3 separate regions of the Homo sapiens genome follow, and regions 1 and 2 are each linked to region 3. The links are contacts of gene promoters, found by promoter capture Hi-C in human tissues and cell types (Jung and others, 2019). All regions are on one chromosome and are shown on one strand. The core of a region is centred on a gene start or on the middle of the fragment in contact, and the rest is flanking DNA. Distances in the headings are between cores, read along the strand shown. Region 1 overlaps LRRC58 (leucine rich repeat containing 58). Region 2 has its middle 28 kb from the start of LRRC58. Region 3 holds the start of GPR156 (G protein-coupled receptor 156).

Region 1 (3,831 bases), core at 631-3,130, 60 kb after region 3:
AAAACATTAGTAGTTACCTTGACTGTGGCAGAAAAGGATCTGACGTTCTAAAATATAACTAAGGCCATGATTTTGCAATTATGTAAATTCTCTTTTGCAATTGATGAATAACACTAATCAAATTACATAACCATCATATTAAATTTACAGTTTCAGGCTTATTTTTTACTTTCTAACTCAAATAATTTCCAAATTTCTAGGGACTTGACATCTTTCGATGATTTGTGGGAATTAAATTTCTATAACACACTCTACTGTTTCTGAATACACTTTTTTTTAAGAAGAAAGGAAACTGTTGTTGAATTTGTAGCAAAACTGTAGGGTTTAAGTTCTTGTGGTTATCAACATTGCAACTCTGTTAATTAGGGTTGGAACAATTCTATTCTTTCAGTATTTGAGGAATACAGAAAACAAGAAAAGTACTCACTAAATTTATGGAACAAATTATTCCTTTCCTGTTTAGCATTAATATATTGACCTTAAAATTGTCTCTTGAAAAATGAATCACGTTTCCAATCCTTAGGGATACTGCAGTGGATGCCTTTTCTCTTATCAAGTACAAATGACCCACTGAAAAAACAGGCTAGCACAAGTAAAAGTAGAAAATGCTTTCTGCTTCTCCAATCAAATAAAACTGACACCGAACATCATAAAAATATACGTTAAGCTGGGCACAGTGGTTCACGTCTCTAATCCCAGCACTTTCGGAAGCTGAGGCAGGCGGATCACTTGAGGTCAGGAGTTCGAGACCAGCCTGGCCAACATGGTGAAACCCCGTCTCTACTGAAAATAAAATTTAAAAAAAAATTAGCCTGGTGTGGTGGCAGGTGCCTGTAATCCCAGCTACTTGGGAGGCTGAGGCAGGAGAATCACCTGAACCTGGGAGGCAGAGGCTGCAGTGAGGTGAGATCGTGCCGCTGCACTCCAGCTTGGTGGACAGGGCGAGACTCTGACTCCAAAAAACAAATAAACAAACAAACAAAAACAAAAAAAAACCCCCAAACAACAACAACAACAAAAATACATTAATCCTATCTTATATGGTTGGTTAAAAGGAGATGGAATTAAAGTAAGATAGGAATGTACAAAGAAGTAGAAAACAGAAAGGAAAAGAAACAGAAAGATAAGAACATCTGTGGATAAAGAAAGTTTTCTTGAAGTAGCATCTTTGTATTAAATGACAAATACTAACATACACCACAGGATTATAAGGTACCTATATGTTCAAAAGTAGACATACAAATAGATGCATCATCTCTTGACACTTGCCCCAAATTAAGGCAATAAAAAAAGTCAGAGGGACGATGTTGAGAGCCAGTGACAAGCTCAGTATGTGACTCTAAATGTGGAAAAGCATTTTCATTTAAACTTTACTGCATTCTATCATCTGGTTGAGTCATCTGTCTCCTTTCTAACATATCAACCTACTGTACACTAACTTCAAAACATTTGAGAGCATTAACTTTTAGCTTTTGTTTTGTCACACCCTCCTATCTCAATCTTTCAAAACCACATCAAACAGATGGTGAGAGGCATCATGAACAGAAAAAGGAAGGCATTACTTAAGAAGAAAAGATTGTAGAAGAGTACCAATGAAACTCAGTTGTGCTCAAACCTACTCTCCAAATATCTAGCATACTGGATTTGCCAAACAATCCAGAAGCTTTTGTTTACTTAAATAAAGTCTATTGGCCATTGAGTGATAAGCTATTAAGCTCTTCCTCAATTAATATCTAACCTAACTGAGAAGAATAAAAGGTATGATTCAGAAAAATAAGTCAGAATATGAATTATACCTACTTTTTCAGCATTATGTAACAAAAAAAATTTTGCCCATATACTATAGCCAAACAATTACACTTATTTGCTGAAGAATAACCACATTTTGATGGAAAGTAACTACATCCACAACCGCATGGTTCACATTGATAACCTAATTTACTCGAGGGGAAGGAAGTTAATCATAAAAATAAGTAAGATTTTCAGCATCTACTTATTTGTTATACTTTGAAAGTGATGCTTCAGAAAACGTTAAAAAAAAAAAGATTTTGCCACTAGGGGAAAGAATTAATAGGGTATAGAAAACATAGATATCTTGCTAAATCTGGAGAGGTCAATGACACCAATTAAGCCATAAGTATTCATTTGTTATTCCTTCCTTAAATGATGAAGAGTGGAAGGAGTGGGGGAGTTTTCATGGATTATATAGTCTGTACTATTTTAATAATTGCTCTTACAGAGGACACATATCTTCTTAATGTGCCAAAACACTAGATCTGGTTTAAAAAGCAGCATGGCATACATAGTATCAATATAAATCAGGGTAACCAATGAAGTCTAGAGGATCCAGGTATTTTCTAAGAGAAGATGGTGTTCTTGGACAGGTAGTTTAAGAGACTAAACCTCCACCTCTACATTTTTGAAGCTTTAATGCATCATATTAGTAGTGAATAGTTAGCAGTGTTTGAAGGCTGAACCACATAACTCTCACTTGTCACTATCTCGCCTCAAGTAAATCACTGATAATAAATCTAAGTTTCCTCATCTGTAAATAGAAGGGGATGAATCGGGTCACTGCCAAGGCTTTTTCTAGCTCAGAGTATATTTCTACACAACCCTTTTAACCTACAATCAGAGTTTATATGTGGAGCATAGCCTAAACCTTTACCGATTCTTAGCAGTAACGAGAAATAAGGCACGCAAGTGAAAAATGAAAACAGTGACGTTAAAGATATCATACATTATTGGTGTCAAAGACACAATGAACAATAAACACAGATAGCACGGTTGTTAGCCCAGAAAACTGAGTCAGAAGATCAGTCAACTATGTGAATGACTTTGACAAATCCTCCTGATCACAAATCCAACAGTACAGAAGTCAAGTTCTAGGCTGGGTGCAGTGCCTCACGCCTGTAATCCCAACACTTTGGGAGGCAGAGGTGGGTGGATCACTTGAGGTCAGAAGTTTGAGACCAGCCTGGCCTGGCCAACATGGTGAAACTTTGTCTCTACTAAAAGTACAAAAATTAGCTGGCGTGATGGCACGCTCCTGTGGTCGCAGATACTTGGGAGGCTGAGGCAAGAGCATCACTTGAACCCAGGAGGCGGAGATTGCAGTGAGCCCAGATCATGCCACTGCACTCCAGCCTGGGCAACAGAGTGAAACTCCATCTCAAAAAAACAGAAAACAAAAAACAAAAAACAAAAACAAGCAAAAAACCATGACCCTCCAACCCCCCAACAAAGATTCAGGTTCTAGTACTCTGCCACTGTGCAGAACTCAAGGGTTTGGAGTCACAGACCACAGAGGTCAAATACAGTTCCAATGCTTACTAGCCTTGTAATCTTATGACTTAATTTCTCTGAGCTTCAGTTTCTGCCTCTGAAAAATGGGAGCACATCATCTTATGGCATCATTGTGAGTATTAAAAAGCATAGTTAGCACCTATGACAGGATCTACTGCATTGTAAGTATTAAATAAATGGGATTTTTGCCTACTTTTCTCCCCATGTGATGGAAATAATACTTTCCCTGGGTTCCTGTTAGTATATTAAGAAAATTCCAAGGCTGGAATTATGCAACATTAAAATTAGAAGGAACCAAGGGCTGTCAATTTTACCTCTAAATCTTTTCTCGAAATCTTCCATTTCTTAGCATTTCTCCTAGTATCAAGCTGGTATAGGCTACCATCATCTCTCATCCTATTACAATGACCTCCTTCAAACCAGCCCTCAAAATCTCTATCTCTTCACCCTCTCCTCACTCCATTCTTGCATAGCAACAAGACACATGCTTAAAACTCTCTCATGTGCACTTAGAATAAAATCCAA
Region 2 (3,738 bases), core at 1,201-3,700, 37 kb after region 3:
AAAAAAAGATTTTAGCTGCTCTTATCACAAAAAAGTAACTATGTAAGATGATAGATATGTTAATCTGCTTTGTTATAGTATCCATTTTACAATCTATATGTATCCCACAACATCATGTTGTAAACCTCAAATATACACACTAAAATTTATTTTAAAATAAAAAAAAAGAAATTCCTATAGCAGACTAGGGCTTAAAATGTAATTACAGTTATGCCACATCTTAAGCCACAGGTATCTAGTAATTATCTGATTCATTCTTATCCATTGGTCAATTACACACACATCTTTCATGAGATACTGCCCCAGCAGAAATAAAACACTAAGATTATTTGTTTCAAAACCACCGATTGACATCTGTCATCCACTACCACAAACCCTTGGAAGTGTTATAAAGTGTGGAATTTTAATTGCAGATTAGGGGTAAAATTCTCATTACCCTACTAACTCTGCCCTTAGCGTCATGTGCATTGGCTTAGGAGGAAAGATGAAAAGACCTAAATAGAGATGGCTAAAAGAGGTGCAGTGAATGATACAAGAATTTACAAATATTTGAGACCTACACAAATAGAAAGGAGCTTTTCAGCAAGATCATTGTAGACTCTCAAAGTTAGAAAGAACTTGTGAAATCATTGTCAGGTTTACAAAGGGGTTAAAATTAACACAAAATACTAAAATTTTGGGAGCTTTCTAGTATAAAATAAGCTTAATTTTCAAGAAGAAAAACTTATTTCACATCTTTCTTTAGTTCAACTTTTAAAGTTTCCAAAGCTACATTTTAAACTCAGTCATTATTTATAGGGAGAAAATACCCATAATAATTATCTCGATAATATGTTCTTTTCCATAGAGTTCCCATGGCATCATGAACAAGTTTTCTTTTCCATTTAAACTTTCCATATATTTACAGAGGTCTTAAGACTGCATTATTATCCAGATTTAAGCAGGAAAATAATTACATAGCCTCATAACTAAATCTGAAAGAAACTAGGGTAGAACTTATGCATAGTGTTTATTTGTAGTTGAGTTGAACTTTTCTATAGAATCATGGGAATCTATGCTTATGGATTAACTATAGTGTCATCTTCTAGGCAGATGTTTACATCTTATCGTTCTTAGGAATGTCTTGCTGTTTACTGTTGTTTATGATGTTAGCTATGTGTTTATCTGTGATCAATAAAACCAGTGTACAACTTGACAAGGGTTTCCTCATAGATGGAAAGGTTGTCTCCTGCCTGTGGCCATAACCTGAAATATTTGACCAAGTCTTTCTTTCACGAATGTTTCTGGTCAAGTTGATCTGTTTGCTGCTTTTGTTTTCCACAATTTGGTGAACACTCTGCCTTAGTTGTAACTGGCTTCAAAATGGCCAATCCATTTGAATGTAACATCATATACCCTCAAAACACTTCCAGTTCAGAAGAAAAGTGACTGACAGGGAGAAGCAAAAAACATTGGATTAGCAGTCAGTGCCTGGTCTGAAGTATGCATTCAATTAAAAAAAATTGGGGGTACAGATGAATAAATTTTAGCCACAGCAACATCTAAGAGAACTTGAGCAAGTCACTTCATCACTTTGGTCCCATTTATCTATTAAGAAAAACTCTACTCCATTGACCTCAAGTTACCATAAAGGGACTTTCACTAAAACACTGATTATCACCCTCACTGGGAAACCAAGTCACCTACAAGAGCTTCTACAACTACGGATGCCAAGACTCTATCTTTAGAGATCAAGTTTCAATTGGTCTGGGGATGGTGTCTTTGTATCTGTATATTTTGAAAGCTTTTCTGGTGATTCTACTGTTCAGCAAGGTTTGAAAATAGCTGCCCAGAGGAAACACTTTCCAACATCTTTTTCCTCCCTGTGGGATAAAGACTTAATTCATCTGCTTAGATGGCCGAAGACTGAAGATAATTGGTCTAGTTTCTCTACTGGGCAGCACTAAGGGGTTTAAGAATTTACCTGTGCTCCTTTGGATCTGTCTGCCCAAAGTGGTATGTTCTGGGCAGTAGTATAGAATACTATCCAGGGGTAGACTCAGTCCTCGCAGGGGAAGCCTGTGATTTTGGTTGGTTACATTCAATTTAATTAAGGGAAAGAATATAAGCAGCTCAATTCTGATTTGATAGAGCTGGTATTTTGTTCCCTATCTCAGGTCAATGTCAATTTCTTAGTTGATTTCAAACGGCAGAAGGAAGGGGGAAGGCTTTGATAAACCACATGAACGTACGTCACCAAATCTACCTCAGCAGTGTCATGACGATTAAATAAGATAGCCTCTTGAATGTGCTTTAAAGAGGTACCCAGCTGTTTACTCTTAAAGTCATCACCAGATCTAAAATTCTGAATACATTGAGATATAGTGCAGATCGCATCACTTCAATACTAGTAGGCCTGTTATTGTGGAGTACTAATACTGTTACTGATTTCCTGTTACAGCATATTAAACAAAGGAAGCAGCATCCTATAGCAGAATCAAGTCTTTTTTTTTTTTTTTTTGAGATGGAGTCTTGCTCTGTCACCCAGGCTGGAGTGCAGTGGCTTGATACAAGCTCACTGCAACCTCTGCCCCCTGGGTTAAAGCAATTCTCCTGCCTCAGCCTTCTGAGTAGCTGGGATTATGGGCACCTGCCACCATGCCCGGCTAATTTTTTTATAGTTTTAGTAGAGCAAGGGTTTCACCATGTTGGCCAGGCTGGTCTCGAAATCCTGACCTCGTGATCTACTCACCTTGGCCTCCCAAAGTGGTGGGATTATAGGCGTGAGCCACCACGCCTGGCCAGAAACAAGTCTTGAAGCGGTAATCTGAAAGCCTGGATTCAAGATTCAGCCATATGGATTCTAGAAAAAGTTTCTTTCGATTTGAATTTTTTTCATTTTTCAAACAAGTGTGTCAATTTCAGATTTCTAAAGTTTCTTCTAGCTCTAATATTCTACGGGATTCTGACAGATTGTTCATGAAGCTGGAAGTGACTGGTGTGATGGATGGAACATGCCCGTCATACATATCCCCAGAAATGTTCTGGCTTTATATTTGGTATCTGCAAAGAATTAGACAAGTCATTTAAGAGTAAAATGTTCTTGTGGCACTAATGCTATGGAGACTAGGTGGATTAGAGAACGGTTTTACCTTTAAGAAAGGAGGCCGGGTACAGTGGCTCACGCCTGTAATCCCAGCACTTTGGGAGGCAGAGGTGGGCAGATCACGAGGTCAGGAATCGAGACCATCCTGGCCAACGTGATGAAACCCCGTTTCTATTAAAAATACAAAAATTAGCTGGGCACAGTGGCACGCGCCTGCAGTCCCAGCTACTTGGGAAGCTGAGGCAGGAGAATCGCTTGAACCTGGGAGGCGGAGGTTGCAGTGAGCCGAGATTGCGCCACTGTACTCAGCCTGGTGACAGAGTGAGACTCCATTTCAAAAAAAAAAAAAACAAAAAACAAAAAAACGAAAGAGAGGCCAGGTGCGGTGGCTCACACCTGTAATCCTAGCACTTTGGGAGGCCGAGGTGGGCGGATCACCTGAGGTCGGGAGCTCGAGACCAGCCTGACCAACATAAAGAAACCCCGTCTCTACTAAAAATACAACATTAGCTGGGCATGGTGGTGCACGCCTGTAATCCCAGCTACTCAGGAGGCTGAGGCAGGAGAATCACTTGAACCTGGGAGGCAGAGGTTGCAGTGAGCCAAGATTGCACCATTGCACTCCAGCCTGGGCAACAAGAGTGAAACTCCAT
Region 3 (3,565 bases), core at 30-2,529:
ACTTTATTCTCCAGACTCAAATTGCCTTAACCTGTAAGCAAACGCTTCCCCAGCCATTTATCCGCAAGCGCATTTGCCCCACCTGCAGCAATGAAAGAAGCACTGTTTTTGCAAGCCGGGCTGCTACCCAGACTGCGAGGAGACATTCTGTGCAGAATTCAGCCACTGGTGGAGAAAAAGAAGTTTTTCTTTGCAGGCCTTGCTGCCTAATACAACTATATCAACAATTTCTCCCGCTGTGTAAGCCCCATCTGAAAATCTTTCCCTTTTATCTAGGATGCAAAAATGTAATGTTATCCTCCATATTCTGGTTTAAAGAACTACACCAGGAAAGACATTTTATGATAGGCTAGGGCATCATTTACCTCTAATTCAAGCATGCATGTACCTAGAAAACTAACAAAGGGGTAAGTTATGCCATGCCATGACTTCTCTTCCCAGATTTCTATCCTGAAATCTTAACAAAATTCGATTTTAAAAACCTCAAGGTTTGTATTCTTCACGAGTACATGGATACCTTGAGTTCTACCTAGAGGCCTCTAGTTTCTGACAGAGCTAACTTGGAAAGGGCTGCTTGCCAGGGTACAAGGATGTTGCAGCTTCCAGGTGACTCCCTCATGCCCAGAAGCAAGGCAGTTCAACAGACGCAGTGCAATACAATTGTCCCTTTTCAGGACTTTGCAATCTCCATGGGGGAGCCCATCGTGCCCGCCACTCTACACCCTGGGGGTGAACATGCCCTGCAAAGCAGATTCGGCGTGAGGAGACTCTGGAAAGTCTACAGGCGGTGGGAAACTGTTTCGGGATCTCTCATTTTCAGCACAGCCGGTCGCTTATTCAGCAGAAAACCCACGGCCCCATCTTCACACCAAATTACAGTACTCTCCCGTCTCTTCCACTGAAATTGCCACTCGCATCCCTGATGCGTGACCCCTGCTCACCTCAAGTTCCTATGAGAGTTTCTTTACCGGTTCCAAACAAACTGCCCAGATTCTGGAAAGGGAGAGAAAGCCCCTCCCCCTTTCCACTTTCACTTAATAATTAAGTGTTTGAAGTTTTGTGGATCCTTAAGGTCGCTGTGCTCACCTCATCAGCGTCGGACCGCCGAGAAGCGCCAAGCCCGCTGCTATGTGCAGGACGCCCACGGTCCCCCGGCGTCTCGCGCGTTCGCGGGGCTGGAAGGGGCGGGAAGGGGCGGGCCGGGGCAGAGACAGGGGCCCGCGCCCATCGCCGCGCCGGGAGCCTGGCGTGGAGGCGGCGGGACGGCGGCGCAGGCCTCTGAGGTGTGCGCGGGGCGCCGGGCGCCTCTGGCCGGGGCACTGGCTGAGCCACGCCTGCCCGCCCCTCCCTGGCGCCGCCCGCGTGGCGCGCCTCGACCCTGCTCTCCCGCGAGGGCCGGGAGGGCTCCGGGACCTTGCAGACTCCACGCGCCTCACGGCTCCTCCAGCTCCTCGGATCTTTCTCCTTGCGTCGCCGCCGAGTCCCCTGGGGCGGCCCCGCCTCCGGCCGTCTCCTCAGAGACCTTCCCTGGGGGGCGCCTTCCCCTCAGCGCCCCTTCCCGGGCCTCGAGCCAGCGGCTGCCGCAGGAGCTGGCCCCGGGGCGAGGAGCTTCAGATTCAGGTCCCTAGCCGGCCTCGGTAAGGAGACTGGAAGGATTCTCCGCGAATGCTCATTTTTATTTCTGGAGTGGCGTCGGAGTTACCAATTAGTTTTCTTATTTTATACTCTCTGGAGTTGCCAAATTCTTTACGTTGAGCTTTTGCTTATTTTATAATCAGAAAGACAAGTACGTTTCTTTTTCCAAGAATGCTTACAGGAGGCCACAAACAAGATGTTCGCACCCAGCCCACTGTCTTCCGCTTAAAAATATGTGTGAGATGTTGTGTTTAAGACACCCTCAAGGAGAAACATAGAGGGGAGACCTGGAAATGGTCTTGGGAATCCACTTAGACTTTCCATATTATATTTGTTTCATTTATTTTAAAATCTCAGACCTATTTATGTGCATTAGGACATTCCACATTTTTACAACTGCGCAGAGGAAATCTTTGGTTGTAGAGGACGGGAAGAGAGAGGCCAGGTCCGCAGACCCCACTGTGACAAGACAGTGGCTACATTCTTAACTGTTTTACACATTGTGATACCCAAAGACTTCTTTTCACAGGATTCTACTGAGGGGGAAAACAAGAGGAAGAAAGAAAGATAGACAAGGTTTTCCTCAAGGCAGTAAGCAAAAAGCTGGTTTCTCAGAAGAAAGAATTATGTCTGAGATTTTACCCAGGACTCTCCAGATCTCTCATTCTACACAGAAGGACCCTTTCATTTGGAACGTGCAGAAACTGAGGAGGACCATCTCTCTCCTCCATGGGGGCTGCCTGAGTTAAAAAGGCCTGGGTCCATCTTTTTTCCGTAGGAGAGCTGACTTCAGAGTCTAGAGCCAAATCTTCACTTCTGTGGCTCTAGATTGAGGATTTGCCCTTCTGATCTCTGTGGGGCTTTTTTTTTTTAACCTGGGAATTCCCCTGGGCTCTTCGGCTGTTATTCTCATCAACCCCTCTCTATATTCTGCAAGACATTGAAATCTTTCTCCCAGCTTGGCCCCCACCTCCAATCCCAGTATTCTCTTTTCTGAGATTGGAGTATTTCCAACCCCTCAGTTGCCAGGCACTGAAGGTTTTCATCTTCCAGGCCTGCCATGTTTACCTCTGAGATGTTTCTGGCAACTGTCCACTTCTCTGCATTCTCACACTGCTGCTCTTGATAAGCTTCGATTATCTGGGGCTGAATTGTTTCAATAATTTCCTAACTGATTTTCTTGCCTCCTATCTGTCCCCACCACCAACATAGACTTAAGAATGTCACTCTCTTGACAAAACAAGCCAACATCCTCTATCCTCTGTCCCACTCCCAAACCTGCAGTAACTTTCCTGTGCAATTGTAATACAGTGTAAACTTTCATAAGGATGGGGAGTGGCCAAGATGGCTGACCAGAAGCAGGTAATGTACATGGCTCTCACGGAGAGGAACAGAAGGGACGAGTAGATACAACACCTTCAACTGAAACATCCGGGTACTCGCATTGGGATTAATCAAGGAAACAACCTGACCCACAGAGAACAAGGAAAAGCAAGACAGGACAACAGCCCACCTGGGAGCAACAGGGAACCAGGGGATCTTCCCCTGCCCAGGGAAGTGGTAAGTGAATGAGCGACCCCGGAAACCATGCTTCTCCCACAGATCTTTGCAACCCTCCTGTCAGGAGATCTCCTTGTGAATCCACTCCACTAGCAGCAGGGCCTTCAGTCTTCAGTCTGGCAGACAGGGCTACATGGAGTCTCAGCAAAGCAGCCACTCAGGCATGCGTGGAGACCCTGGAGGCTTAGATACTTGGGCGTTCTGGCAAAAGTAGCTGCATCTCCCACAAAGAGGGAGTTTAGACTCCCATTCATACCCCTAAGAAAGAGGCTGAATCCAGAGGGCTGAGCAGCAACAGCCCGCAGGGCCCACTTCCACAACACCTCACACAAGACAGGACCCACTGGCTTGGAATTCCACCCAGCTACCA

Evidence for each region. The method cuts DNA at HindIII sites, captures the fragments that hold promoters and counts their contacts. A contact is called where the count stands out against the background at its distance.
Region 1: a fragment that was not itself captured here is called in contact with the fragment with the promoter of GPR156 in region 3 in 1 of the 25 tissues and cell types used here (bladder).
Region 2: a contact is called between a fragment that was not itself captured here and the fragment with the promoter of GPR156 in region 3, in 1 of the 25 tissues and cell types used here (mesendoderm cells).

What each region holds. Positions count from the first base shown.
Region 1 is chr3:120,343,083-120,346,913 of GRCh38, forward strand. The region is part of intron 1 of LRRC58 (leucine rich repeat containing 58); the gene reads right to left. Among named protein-coding and RNA genes, the nearest start is that of LRRC58, 4.4 kb to the right of the region's middle. The HindIII fragment of the contact is 4,219 bases long and covers 1-3,831 here.
Region 2 is chr3:120,319,899-120,323,636 of GRCh38, forward strand. No RefSeq gene overlaps it. Among named protein-coding and RNA genes, the nearest start is that of LRRC58, 28 kb to the right of the region's middle. The HindIII fragment of the contact is 7,195 bases long and covers 1-3,738 here.
Region 3 is chr3:120,283,943-120,287,507 of GRCh38, forward strand. It overlaps GPR156 (G protein-coupled receptor 156), which reads right to left and starts at 1,280. Exons shown (of 10, transcript NM_153002.3): 1 at 1,087-1,280. It overlaps LOC124909418 (a long non-coding RNA gene), which reads left to right and starts at 1,214. Exons shown (of 2, transcript XR_007096029.1): 1 at 1,214-3,195. The HindIII fragment of the contact is 13,353 bases long and covers 1-3,565 here.